2 separate regions of the Homo sapiens genome follow, and region 2 is linked to region 1. The links are contacts of gene promoters, found by promoter capture Hi-C in blood cells and fetal thymus (Javierre and others, 2016). All regions are on one chromosome and are shown on one strand. Each heading gives the region's core, a stretch centred on a gene start or on the middle of the fragment in contact. The rest is flanking DNA. Distances are from core to core; before and after follow the strand shown. Region 1 holds the start of FOSL2 (FOS like 2, AP-1 transcription factor subunit). Region 2 overlaps RBKS (ribokinase).

What was found. The method cuts DNA at HindIII sites, captures the fragments that hold promoters and counts their contacts. A CHiCAGO score of 5 or more calls a contact.
Region 2: a contact is called between a fragment that was not itself captured here and the fragment with the promoter of FOSL2 in region 1, in 5 of 17 cell types (endothelial precursors, megakaryocytes, M2 macrophages and 2 more). The highest score is 6.1, in endothelial precursors.

Annotation. Positions count from the first base shown.
Region 1 is chr2:28,391,369-28,398,593 of GRCh38, forward strand. FOSL2 (FOS like 2, AP-1 transcription factor subunit) reads left to right here and starts at 1,490. Exons shown (of 4, transcript NM_005253.4): 1 at 1,490-2,454. The coding sequence starts at 2,353. FOSL2-AS1 (FOSL2 antisense RNA 1) reads right to left here and starts at 3,304. Exons shown (of 2, transcript NR_103831.1): 1 at 3,180-3,304. RefSeq lists silencers at 707-1,826, 2,313-2,489 and enhancers at 1,520-2,451, 2,607-3,107, 3,108-3,608. The HindIII fragment of the contact is 9,962 bases long and covers 1-7,225 here.
Region 2 is chr2:27,868,756-27,875,932 of GRCh38, forward strand. The region is part of intron 1 of RBKS (ribokinase); the gene reads right to left. Among named protein-coding and RNA genes, the nearest start is that of RBKS, 18 kb to the right of the region's middle. The HindIII fragment of the contact is 800 bases long and covers 2,541-3,340 here.

The sequences.
Region 1 (7,225 bases), core at 240-2,739:
GTGTGACGGTGCACAGCGAGTTGTCAGCAATGGACTCTCAACACCTCTTAACATTGGGTCCTCATAAGGACCCTGTGGGGTACAGATGGCTGGCGCTACTTAAGAATTGGGTAAACTGAGGCTAACACAGACCCTGGACCAAAACCTAAGTTCCCTGACTTCCGCTACAGTACTTCTCCATTCACACACACCATCATCTCAGCGGAAGGATTGGAGCTCCAGAGCAGAGAAGGGCCTAAGGTCATGTCTCCAAACTCCTTCACTTTATAGGAGGAAACTGAGGCCCAGAGAGGTTAAGGAATTCGTCCAAGATCTCACAGCTCGTAAATAGCGTAGCCGGGCGTTCCTGCTCTAAGGTCTGTGCTCTGTACCCTGCGCCGCGCCCCTCCCAGCCCCGCCCAGCGAGGGAGGAGGACCCAAATGTCCGGCAACCCGCGCCCTGAACTTCGCTCCAAAACAGCTGAAGACGACAACGTTGGGGCACACCCTCTCGCTGGCTTTTTTTTTTTTTTTTTAATTCGTAACAGTCTGGAGTTTGCTTATAAACGCCCGATTACTCTTATTAGATGCGTCCTAATTGCCCGGCGTATAGGGCGGCCGGAATGTCTTGACTGGTTAATTTCATCTTCAAGGCTACTCCTAACGAATTAACTGTAGGACCGAAAACATGAAAAACAAAAAACAAAAAGGGAACCGGTAGGCAGACCGCCACGGAGGGAAAAATAGGCAGGCCAGCCCCGCCCGGCGCCGTGCCCCGCCAACACCCGGCCGCAGGGCGGCGCGGGCACCCTGCGCGCCCGGGGCGCCCGCTGCACTCGGCGGCGCCGCGGAGGGCGCCTACGACCGCGCGCAGCCGCGCCCTCCCTGCGAGCGGCTCTGCGCGCCCGGCTCCCGGCCTCCCGGTGGCGCCGCACCGAACCGCCCGTCTCGCCGTCAGGGCTGTGATTATTTTCTAAAATCCGGAGGCGAGACCCGCGCGGCCGCTCTCGGGGCCCCGCCCCGAGCCCCTTCCCAGGGCGGGGGAGAGGCCGCAGCGCACTCGGGAGCGGGCGAGGGAATCCCTCTCCCTCCACGTCACCCGAAAGCGAGGAAACCCGCACTCGCGTCCTCTAACGCAAATGACCATCTTTGGCAACGTGCGCCAATGGAACAGACCAAGGGCGCTGGGCCCGGGGGGTGAGCGGGGGACTGGGGAGGGCCGGGGCTGCCTCGGCGCCTCCGAACCGTGCGTGGCGCCCGCTCCCGCCCGTGCCACCGCCTGGCTTCCTCGCGCGGGGTGCGCGGTTGGCGTCAGCGCGGCCGGGAGCCGGGGCTGGGAGGGGAGAGCTGCGCCCGCCTCCTCCCCTCCCGCGCCTCTTCCTCCTCCGCGGCCTCCTCCCCCCGCCTCCTCGTGCGCTCCTCCCTGCAAGGTGGAGTCTGGGGTTGACGTGAGTGAATCCACATGGTACAGGGCTGGAGAATAAAGAGTGTGAGTTGAACTCGTGCCATTGTAGTGACTCATCTCGGGCAGAGCGCTAGGGCTCCGAGCGAACCAGCGAGCGAGCGAACGAGCGGCGCTCGGCGGGGACAGAAAGAGGGAGAGAGAGAGAGAGAGAGAGGGAGAGGCGCGGCCGGGCGAGGCGGGCCCGTCCGGGAGCGGGCTCCGGGGAAGGGGTGCGGGTCTGGGCGCCGGAGCGGGGAGCGGGGCCGCGTCCCTCTCAGCGCCAGCTCTACTTGAGCCCCACGAGCCGCTGTCCCCCTGGCGCGCTCGGGGCCGCGGGACGGGCGCACGCCGCCTTCTCCTAGTCAAGTATCCGAGCCGCCCCGAAACTCGGGCGGCGAGTCGGCCACGGGAAGTTTATTCTCCGGCTCCTTTTCTAAAAGGAAGAAACAGAAGTTTCTCCCAGCGGACAGCTTTTCTTTCCGCCTTTTTGGCCCTGTCTGAAATCGGGGGTCCCCAGGGCTGGCAGGCCAGGCTCGCTGGGCTCCTAATCTTTTTTTTAATTTCCAATTTTTGATTGGGCCGTGGGTCCCCGCTGAGCTCCGGCTGCGCGCGGGGGCGGGAGGGCGCGCGCAGGGGAGGGACCGAGAGACGCGCCGACTTTTTAGAGGGAGGGATCGGGTGGACAACTGGTCCCGCGGCGCTCGCAGAGCCGGAAAGAAGTGCTGTAAGGGACGCTCGGGGGACGCTGTTCCTGAGGTGTCGCCGCCTCCCTGTCCTCGCCCTCCGCGGTGGGGGAGAAACCCAGGAGCGAAGCCCAGAGCCCGCGGCGCGGCCGGCGGACGAACGAGCGCGCAGCAGCCGGTGCGCGGCCGCGGCGAGGGCGGGGGAAGAAAAACACCCTGTTTCCTCTCCGGCCCCCACCGCGGATCATGTACCAGGATTATCCCGGGAACTTTGACACCTCGTCCCGGGGCAGCAGCGGCTCTCCTGCGCACGCCGAGTCCTACTCCAGCGGCGGCGGCGGCCAGCAGGTAGGTGCGGGCCCCGGTGCACCTGGCGGCGCGGGCGGACCCCTGCCCTCTTCTCGCCGCCACTGCCTCTTTTGCTTTCTTTTCTTTTTCTTGGCGAGAAAATACCTACGGGCCACCGTTGTAAGTTCTGGATTTTCGTCCTCCCCTTCCCCCCCACCCCCTTTTAAACTAGGGGATTGGAGAGTGGGCTTGAAGAGACAACATGCCCTTTTCCTCTCACGTTATATTTTACCCAGATAGACTCCTGGAATTGTAGGCCCCCTACCAGGAGCCTGTTACCTCCTTCCAAGAACTACTCCCCCTCCCCAGTGTCTGCCCCCCCCCCCCCACCCCTGCCCCGCGTCTTCTCTCTGGGTGGTGGACAGACAAGAAAATCTTTGCACCCACTGGCACCTCTCGACATCCTGGGACCCTATTCCTTCAGGAAAGCCCTCTCTCTCTCCTCCCCGTTCTCCATCAGTCATAACTCCTTTCTGAAAGGGGTTGGGGACCCAGAAACATGGTTGGACTCCTTCAAGTAATCTGGAGCGAGGGCGAGGGCTGCCGCTCTGGGAATCAGGTGCGAAGGTCAGGAAGGAAGAAGCCAGCCTTGGTTGGCTCATGCCGCCTGTGTGCCCCCTGCCTGCCTGCCTGCCCCCCCGCCGACCCGTCTTCTGTAAGGATCACGGACAGGAGGCTGCACTGCCCCCCAGGAACGAAGGAGCACCTTGAGGGTCTGGGGGTACCTGGAGCAAGGAGACCGGCAGAGGGAAGAGGGGGTCGGGTGGGGGAAGAGACATCACGCAGGCTCCTGGGTGGTTCTGGAAGCAGAAAACAACTTGTTTCTAAAGCAGCCGGACTGGTTTGCACTGGAGGGATTGTGCGTGTGATCTCTGTGTTTATAAATACCAGGAAGGTGCTGTTGGCGGGGGGGTGCTGATGGCGTGTCTGCCCTCTGCTGCAGCTCCCCCACCCGCTCTGTCTCGAGAGAGAGCTGGGTTAACGCAGGCCCAATACAACATGAAGCCCACCGTGGTCAGCATCTGTGGAGTCTAGCATAGTTGGCTGCAGCAAGGGATGCTCATGCTCCATAAGGCGGTGGCCTTGGCCTCTAGAAGGGGCTAGGGTGGGCTTCCAGGGAGGGGTGGACTCAGCTGGAAAGAATTTTGGAACGTGGCTCTCTTTTGGATCTGATGGGGGGGTCCCTTGTTCCAAAGTGATTCCCTATACCTGGTGAGTCCCCAAAATGGCTTTTCTGTCTTCCCTCTGCCTCCCATGGTGCTCCTATAAGCACCCACAGTAGAGACAGCCTAGTCTGTTCATTGAGGGTGCAGTCAATGCACCCTTCGTAATGAGCACCAAGGTGATGAGTTTAAAATCCGAAAAGTTGTTGATTATGTTTGCTTCCCAGCCCCGCTAGTGGTTTGTGTTGAATGTAAACATAATGAGGGAATAGGTTGAAGTCTGTACCCACTCCCTCCGTCTCCCGTTCGACAAACCCCAAACGCCTGTCTGTCTCCTCCTCCCTGAAATCAGGAAGGGATCTTTTGATTTCTTCTCTGTTCTTTTCCCTAATGTGTCTTTAGCAGTGATCATTGGAGTATTACAATCTCACTGCCTGGTTTAGCATAGACCCTGGGGCCTGGAGGGAAGTCAGACCGGACATCAGTGCCCCAACTGAATAATCTGTGTCACTAGGGCTTTGAGCCCAGGATGTGAGCGGAGGCAATTCCCGGTTTTGGAAGAAAATCAGACAGGAAACCAGTGCTAGGAAGAAGGAAGAGAACTCAGTCCAGCAGAGTGTAATAGGGCCTCATTACCGAAGCAAAAAGCAGCTGTTGGCTAATTCCTAGCATGCTGTAACACATGAGTATTTTGCAATTAGCAATAACCAGTGCACGGGGTTTCGCATAGACGCCTGCCCATTCGGCCCGGCAGTGTGTGAGGCGCCTTTCAAACCGGAGGGATTGGCAAGGTAATGCCACTTGAGACAAGTTTCTTGGCCTGTCCGCTCCTTGGTGTGGTGGTGGTTGGGTGGGGGACGAGGAGGAACTGGTGGATTTTTCTGTCATTGCTCCAAGTGTGAACAAAATTGTTCTGTGGTCCTAAGGACTGACCTCAGAGGCTTTTGTTCCTTCACAAGTCTATGCTATGACCTTGCCCGATCTTGGGCTCAAGGTAACTTTACTACATACCAGATAAAACCTGTAATCACTTTATTTCTCTCCGCTTCCTGTACTGGAAGACTTTCCTGGCAATTAGTGGATGGGCCTTTCTCTTTTATGGCATCTCAGTGGACCGATCCATATGAGACAGTTCTCTGGTTTTTCTCTGGGGAAGTGAATTTTATTTTTTTCAGCTCTCTCTTTTGGGGGTCCAATATTCCTGATTAGTTTGTTGCCAGTTCTTCAACCCAGAGCTTTCCCGTCCTCTCTAGCTTCATGAAGCTGGATCTTAATACATGGCCATGAGCTCCAGTGACTTTGGGGGTGGGGGGAGCAGACTAGTCTTTGTTACAGCCTCTGTTCTTATATATGGCAGGAACTTGAGGCATGAAAAATATTTCCTGTTCCAGTTATAGTTTTAATCTCAAAGGTTGGTCATTGGTGATTTTGTTTTGTCAGTAACCGTTGCACACACCTCCCCTTCTTGGATTTTTCTTTTTGCTGTTGTTTTTTCTCTCCTAACTTTCCTAGGAAAACATCTCCCAGATATATGCCCTGCCTGGCTGCTTGACTATTACGGTTTCAGGGCCTGAGCATTACGCAATCCAGCCAGTTACACAAACATAGGTCATTTCATAACTTGTTTTCATCAGCTGGGCCCCCTTTTAATGAAAAAACAAAACAAAAACAAGACCTAGAACTTTTCCAAGGCTGCTATTTGTTTCTCAGATAACTTGTGAAAATAAATCAAGGGCAGTATTTCCTTTTTGGAGTTAAGGAATACCAGACTAGCACTCTTCTTCCTCAACCACCCCTTCCCAAGACACACACACACACACACACACACACACACACACACACACACACACACAAAATTCCCCAGAGTGAACTTTTGCCAACTGTACCAGACTGGGACATTCCTCACATCAAAGAACTTTTACCAGAAATGACTGTGATTCCCAAGCTAGCCTCAATCATACCTCTCTAGTGCCCTCTACGGGAAATTTTTAGGAAAACTATCTTGGGAATGTATTTTTCCAGTCCCAGAGAGTGTTAAATTGGTGAGTTTGGAATTCTTAGGATGCTTTTTCTTTTTAATGAGGGACAAATAAATGCCACATATTTAACCGTGGTTAACTAGGAACTGCTTGACTTTGAGTTTCTTTTTTGTTTTCTTCTAAATAAAACCTGGTTAAAAAAGGAGTGCTTTTTCGTTGTGCACAAGTACCCTAGAACTTAAAGTATAATAAAAAATAAAAATAAAAAAAGGAGTGCTTTTTTCTTTTCCTATTTTGATGTCTGTCTATTCATTAGGTTGCCTTCACAGTTTGTTCAAATTCCCAAGGCATGTTTTCCTATGTGCTTATATTAGGAGGGGGCTTGTTCAGTTGGTGGGAATGTGGGAGGCATAGATTAAGGGTCTGGGTGCTTTTTTTTTTCCCCTTGATGTTACAGATGTTGTAGATTAGGATCAAACAAAATGTTATCCCAAGAATTTGTCTGTTCCGCTGATTCTTGATGGTGGAAGTCAGCTTCACTTTTTCATCAAAGGGAATGGGGTGAAATAGCAGTCATGTATTGTCTGAAAGGCATTTGAATTTTCCTATCCAAAACGCTGAGTGCATTTCCACTACCCATTTCTGCTTCTGCCTGTCTTATTATTCAAGGTGAGGGTAAAATTGGGAGACTTGTTTTTTCTTCTCTATCTTAATACAAACACAGCAGAACTTATTCATCCTTGTCACTGTCATCCCCTTCCTTGTTTTTTCCTTGGGGAGACTAAATGCTTATCTGAATGCTGCGGCTATGCTTAGACTCAGAAAGGTTTTGCAGTACCCCCTCTTTTGCAGTTGCTTTCAGCGTATTCTTTTGAAAATCCTCCCTACTAACAAATCTTTGTCCTTTGAAGGGTGAATTTGATATTTGGAAATTACCAAAAGCCTCTTTGGAGCCGAGTCTGACATACAAGTCTGGATGATCAGGCTGAGGCCAAAGTAGGGTGTGACCCTGTGTCCTGCAGGCCTCTAGAGTCTACCTGGGAGAGCATGCCCACGACAAAGGACACCAAAGCAGGCACCTTTGCCGTCAATAACTTGGATTTTTTTTCTCATTTGTTAGATAGGAATAAAGATACTGGTTGTGAGAATTAAGGAGACGAACGTTCCGGTCTATTTGTTGAAACAAAGAAAAAAATAGCATCATTACTTTGTGGATATGTCTCATCTATGTTGTATGTGGTGTCTTTTGGTGGCCACAGTATTTCAAAATGACAGCAGCTGCCCTGATTGAGGCAAATATATCTGTTCCAAACCCCATCTGGTAATTCTATCCCTTCTCCACTCCCTGGGCCAGAGAGGGAAGGTATAAGATTTCTCCTGGCCCACCTGGTCTCTCGGCCCTGTCCCGTGGCAGTGAGACTTTCCTAGGCTCACCTTCCGGTGGCTTTAATGGAGGATGAGAGGACGTGTCATTCCCATGGAGTACAGAGCCGCCAGGGAGCTGTGGGGGCTCCAAAGGGGCCCACACACTAGTGGAGTGAATTCCCCAGTGCTTTGGAGTGGCGCTTCTGGCCAAAAGGGCCCTGGCAGGGAAGCAGCTGGGGAGCCTGGACGAGGGCTAAGGCCTTC
Region 2 (7,177 bases), core at 1,691-4,190, 520 kb before region 1:
ATAGCCTATTCTTTATGCCTGAAAGTTCTTTCCTTTGCTTCTCAGCTGAGCTAATCCATTCAAATCCTTTAAAATTCAACTCAGACAATCATCTCCTTTGGGAGTCCTAATATAGTAAGTCCAATTGAAATAACTAATACATTAATAATGGCAGATATTTCTAGAGGACTTATTATATGATAAATACTGCACTAAACACTTTATAACTATCAATTCACTTAATCATTACAATAACCCCATGAGAAAGTTATTATTATTTTGATCCTATTTCACAGATAAGGAGAATGAAAATCAGAGAGATTACAAAACATATCCATGTTCACCCAGTAGAAGATGGCAGGGCCAGGATTCAAAGCAAGGTTGATCTGACTCCAAAACTTACAAAATATTATCCAGAAATGTACCTAAAGCTCCTTGGACCTATTTATATTTTAGGATTTTATAATTTATTGTGTAATTTTTATTTAATAGTAATTATACTTCTGAAGAACACTGGTGTTCTTCAAGCTGAACCAAGATGCTGAGACAGCAAGGCCAAATAATGGTGCTCCTTTCCTACTTAATTCAGAAGGCATTAAGTGAATGGACACTATGTTATCAAATTTAACTTTTCTTCTTAAACCCGAGTGCAGTATTCTTTATGTAACCTATAGTCTAGCAGAAGAGAGCATACAATTTCATGGGAAGTATGAATATAGTTAACTTAAGCTTAATGTTCTGTGGTATTCCACAAAAAGTGTGACTTACCTGTGCTCTACAGCAGTGGTCCCCAGCCTTTTTGGCACCAGGGACTGGTTTTGTGGAAGACAATTTTTCCAGGGACCAGGGGGAGGAAATGGTTTTGGGATGATCCAAGCACATTCCATTTATTGTGCACTTTATTTCTATTATTATTACAGTGTAATATATAATGGAATAATTATACAACTCATCATAATGTTGAATCAGTAGGAGCCCTGAGCTTGTTTTCCTGCAACTAGACGGTCCTATCTGGGGGTGACGGGAGACAGTGATACCTGAAGTGTGTTGTTTATGTCCAGTCTACTCCATAATCTCGTTTTGGTTGCTGTTACTGCAGAAAACTCTGCTTCACAAAGATAGGGTGTTGGAAATGGAAGCAAGCTTTTCAGTGCTTTTGGGGCAGTCTCTGGATATTATGCCTTGACTTCAATCCGGACTGTGTGAAGATTTGAAGCTGTTTCAACATACTTTTAAGGCCACCGTCATTTGCGATCTCAAGCAGTTGGTCCTTTTCCAGCACGGACAAAGTCGATTCACCTTGGCTTATCCACAAATGGGTTGCAGATCCATTCCTTCCCAGTCTGGGGGGTCTTTTGTGGTTGGGAAGTAATGCTCAAACTCCTTTAAAAGCTGAGATAGGTGATCATGCACCAGCTGGGGGAAAGAAGGCCCTGGTTCAGTCTCTTTCAAAATATCTGCTAATGTTTGAAACATGTCAGAAATCCCCATGTTCACTTGTCACCCCCATAATTCCAGTTTGGCTTTGAATGCAGCCCCTTTATCTGACAATTTGAACACAGTTGTCATTCTCCCCTGAAGTGACAGATCGAGTTCGTTGAGCAGGTTGAATATGTCACACAAGGAAGCCAGGTTTGCAACCCATTCTGTGTCACTGAAATGTGCTGCCAGTGGTGACTGTTTTTCTAAAAGAAATCTCCGGAGTGGCTCTTGTAACTCAAAAACTCTGATCAGTGATCTACCTTTAGAAAGCCATCTCACTTGTGTGTGTGAGAGAAGACATGTGTGCACTGCACCCACCTCCTCACAGAGCTGTGCGAAGAGACGTGAGTTAAGGGCATGTACTTTAACGTGGTTGATAATTTTAATCACATCCTGCAAAATGCTGTTAAGTTCAGGTGACATTTTTTGGCTAGCCAGCATTTCTCTATGGATGACATGGTGTGTAGACTCACATTCAGAAGCAACCTCTTTGATGTGAGTAGTGAAACCAGAAGCTGTCCAGCCATGGCAGCCACTCTGTCCATGCATATACTCACACAAAATGACCAGTTCAGTTTTCCTGACATGTAATCACGCAAAGACTTGAACAGTTCTGCAGCTGTGGTGTGGGCTGGCAACAAAAGTGCACATAACATATCCTCATGCACATCCTCCTGAAAAATACATTACACAAAACAAGCATTGTTGCCTTGTCAACATCGGTAGACTCATCAACCTGGACTGCGTATCACAGTGACTCATTAATCCACTCTAACAATTGTGCCTCAATGTCCTCTGCTATTTCATCAATTTGTCTAGTTATGGTGCCAGCTGAATGAGGAACTTGTGCCACCTTTTTAACTGCAAGATCTCCTAAAAGTTCAAGACAAATGTCCTTAGCAGCAGGCAGGGTCAACTCTTCACCAACAGTAAAGGACTTCTTAGCTTTAGCAATGCATTTAGCCACTAACAATGATACTCTCAGTACAGACACATTTGATGAAGCTGTGGCCTTCAATGATTGCTTCTGTTCTTCGTGTTCACTAAAACAAACAAACAAACAAACAAAAAAACCCAAAAGCTTGTTTTTTAATGCGAGGTGCTTGGTCTCCATGTAGCAAAGCAGTTTTGAAGGTTTCATGGCTTCGTTGGATAGCTAGTTACCACATATTATACAAAGCAGGTTCAATGCACCCGTAATTTAAATAGGACTCTTGGTATTTTCTTTTAAATGCAGCTTTCATTTTGTTGCCAGTCTTAAAAGTCTTCTGCTGTCTCATCATTGGGTCTTTCCCCCCTTTTCAAAGAAGCTCTCCAGTGACGTTTATTTTTTACTAATTTGGCTAGGATTAGCTCATGGGCTTACCAAAACTGTGACTGAGACAAGTGTGCAGTGTGAGAAAGAGGCATGGTAAATAAAATAATGGGTGGGCCATGTGTGGGCTAAAATAACTGTTGGATTCTGACTTAAGGCCTGCTACCAGATGCAGCTGTACAACTGAAGTACATCAACTCACTTGCCACTATAAAGTTAAGCCTGCCACCAGATACAGCTTAATTGTCATTTGCCACTCACTGATAGGGTTTTGATATAAGTCTGCAAGCAGTTGATTTATGATGGTCTCTGTGCAGTCAAACCTCTCTGCTAATGTTAATCTGTATTTGCAGCTGCTCCTCAATGCTAGCATCAGTGCCTCAGCTCCACCTTAGATCATCAGGCGTTAGATTCTCAAAACCAGTGCACAGCCTAGATCCCTTGCATGTGCAGTTCACGATAGGGTTCACGCTACTATGAGAAACTAATGCTACTGCTGATCTGACAGGAGGTGGAGCTTAGGAGGTAATGTGAGCAATGGGGAGTGGCTGTAAATACAGATGAAGCTTTGCTCACTTGCCTGCCACTCACCTCCTGCTTTGCAGCCTGGTTCTTAACACACCACAGATCAGTACTGGTCTGTGGCCCAGGGGTTGGGGACCCCTGCTCTACAGGCTTAATGAGCTTGAAAAATAGTGTTCTAAAGAGCCGTTTATTGTAACGTAACACATTTAAAATAAATTCAAATAAATCAGAACTCCCAACAAATGTGACTGGATTACATTCTCTAGTAAAAAGAAAAAAGTAGTGCAGTTATAAAAAAAATTAATAAATAAAACAAGCCAACAAAAGACTAAAATTCAGGTATGCGCTGTTTATGAGACACATTGAAGGGTGAAAAGAAAAAAAGACAGGAAAAGATATACAAGGCAAATAGCAACTAAAACAAACCTGGATAGCTTTATCAATATCAGCCAAAAATTAAAAAATAAAAAAGCTTAAGGCAAAGACAGATAAAATATGGTAACTCACTTTAATCAAAAGGTTAAATTCATCAGCACCACAGGAAAGGGAGAAAAAAGGTTAAACTCGGCAGGAAAATGTAATAATTCAAGTCTAAGTATAACCAATAAATTAGCCGTAAAATACATAAAACCAAAAAAATATATAACAACAACAAGAAATTGTCAAATCCACCATCACGGTAGGTGATGTTAATGCAATTCCCTAGGTAAGCAAAACGTCAAGCAGACAGAAAGTCAGCCTAGCTTAATGAATGTATATGAAACACCACAGCTGAACACCCATCAAATAAGAAACATGGCAAGAAGGAAGCAATTTGTGGTGGAAGCAGAAGCTTGAATGGATGCAGAGGGGTAAAGGAGGCCAGTAAAGGCAAAACACTGGCAGGGTTGGGAATGAGCAGGTGCTATACTCGCAGAGAAAGCCTGCAAATGGGGAGAGGAGTGAGGGTATGGAACACACATGAGGAGGGCAGTGGGGCCAGGGTAATGATGGAGCACTGGGGTAAAAATTAAAGAACAATCCATTTCCTAGGAACCTTCCCTGGTTCCTGCTCTTCCTGAGACCTGGCTGTTAAGCTAATTCTGGGTCACCTTGCAAACAAGTATCCATTCTTGAAGTAACTGAAATGATCCTCTGCTCATTACAACCCAAATAACTAACCAGTTAAATAATGCAGTTTCCTTGTTGCAGCTGTCAATAGGGTTAAAGTTCTGCTGGAATCGGGGTCCCCACACAGACATTCTACACAGCTGCTATTCTTGGGCAACTGTGGCATGCAAGCATTCCCTCCTTCCCTCCACAAATGTTCACTGAGTAACTACTTTGAGCAAGGTACTGTGATAATTTCAAATGGCTTAAAAGAAACATTTTAGATAATACTCTATTTTCTTTATGGTCTTGACAGAATACCAAAGAACTGCTTATGATTTTCATTGAGACAGCCTGAAGGACTTTAAAATTGAGTTTCTAAAAGACTTTTGGCAGAGTATTTGGTTGAAAATTTAGGTAACTAAAAATGTAGGTTTGTATTTCTCACTTCAAAATGAAGACCTCTAACTCAGAAAAAACCAATATTGTTGCTATAACAGTGTATGAATTGTAATTTTTTAAACTGGTGGTAAAAATCCAGATGTAAAATATAATTTTTAAAGGGTACTTAAAAAACTGTTGCACAAATTATTTTCTGCAATGATACAGAAGAATTGCATTTGAACGTATTTTTGACCATGAGAGACAAGCCAGTACCTAATATGTGATGTATCTGGGAAACAAACAAAAAAAAAACAAAACACCCTGAAACAAAAAACCCCAAACCCAAAGCAAAAACAAAACTCTCAGCTTTTATTTAGAAAACACATCAACCATATACAAACAGAGATAATTTATAGCAGCCTTCTGTATGTATACAAGAAACACTCCAAGTCAAACTAGTGATATAAAAATCATAAAGAAGGTAAGGCAAGGCAGATAGAAATATTTTAAATGCTCATATGAAGAATTTAAGGCCTCAAACGTGTCTTCAATCAGTTGTCATAAGAGGAACCTTCTACAATTCAAAGAAAACTTGTCCTTGAAGATCATATGACAAAAAAGTTGTTCATCACTGTGTAGAAAGTACTAAAAAGTGATTAAAATTGTATTCAATGAAGAAAATCTTGATTTAGTATGATAACTATGGAAGAAATTGGAATAATCTCAGATCCTTTTTATGATACTCAGTCCATTCTCCGCATATATTTGTTACAATTACTACATTCCAGACTCTGTGTGAAGTTCTGGAGATATTCAGACCCTGTCCTCACTTAGCTTACAGCTTAGTTTTAACATTGTACAATCACTGTCAGAATGGAGGAAGGTGCAGCCACTCAACTAGGAGGCAACTGTCCTGGGCGGAACTCACATCATTCAAGAACTGATATCACTGGACAGCATCATGTGACACAACACGTCGTCAAGAGTGAAGACTCTGTATTACCACAGCAGAGAGACTGGATAACCAGGTATGATGCCACTTATACGCTGATGTGTTTATCTGTGCCAATCATGACTCCCCTTGATCAGGAATAACTCCAACCCCTTTCTCTTAAAGGTTAATTTCTCCAAATTGCTACAGTATTTTGTCACATTCACTCTACTTCATAGTTCCTGCTTTTATCAGTAAGTCACTTTTTGTCTACCCCTGTGGAACATTAAAATTTATGGGGAGTTTAAAAAACAAAAATTGATGCCTGGATTCCCTCCCTGGAGAGGCTGGTTTAACTGACTCTAAAGGGCAACCAGGGTTGAGAATCTCTCTCATCCATATTTCCACAATATTTTATGCTAGCCAGAGTCTTAAAATTCTCCTTTCACTCTTATACTATTAGCTTCTTTGCTGCAGAACTCTTAACCAGCATCTTTACATTTTCTTTTCTTTGAACTGTCTTGTTTAAAATCTTAAGGAGTGTCCAACAGAAAAATGGACAAAGGACCCATGGCTGGCAACTCACAAAAGAAACACAAATAACTAACAAACATCTGGAAAACATTCAACATCTCCTCTTGTAATCAAACATGAAAACATTTAACATCTCTCAACTAGTAATGTGTTCGTTAAAAATCCAGGAAATAGGCCTTTTTCATACACTGTGAGTAGGAGTGTATTTCAGAAGAACTTTTATGAAGGCAAATAGGCAATATATTTCAAAAGTTTAAAAAATGTTATTTCCAGCCAGGTATGGTGTCTCACGTCTGTAATCACTGCACTTTGGGAGGCCAAGGTGGGCAGATAGCTTTAGGTTAGGAGTTCGAGAGCAGCCTGGGCAACATGGCGAGACCTTGTCTCAACCAAAAATAAAATATAAAAATTAGTTGGGCATGGTGGTATGCACCTGTAGTCCCAGCTACTCAGAAGGCTGAGGTGGGAGGATTGATTGAGCCTGGAAGGTCAAGGCTGCAGTGAGCTGCGATCGCAACACTGCATTCCGGCCTGGGTGACAGAACTAGACCTTGACTCAAAATAAAACAAAACAAAAACAAGAATGTTATTTCCTTTGGCCTAGAAATTCCAGCTCTAGGAATTTACCTAAGGAAACAGACATGAGTCCAAAAGATAAGTGTTCAAAGAAGTTCATCATAGCAAACAGAACCAACTTAAAAGTATTTATTTAGGGCACTGAATCAACAAATTTTTGTATCTCTACGTAACAGAGTATTAAATGGCCACAAAAATGCTGGGGCTGAGATTGAGGGTGGCAGAGAAGGTATGAGGTTTACTGAGCTCCTTGCCTGTACAGACACATTTTTCCTCTTGCACAAACGTATACTTAGACATGACAGATATACATACATATGGGGATGCAAAATTGCATAAGAGGACATAAAAGAGGGATTACA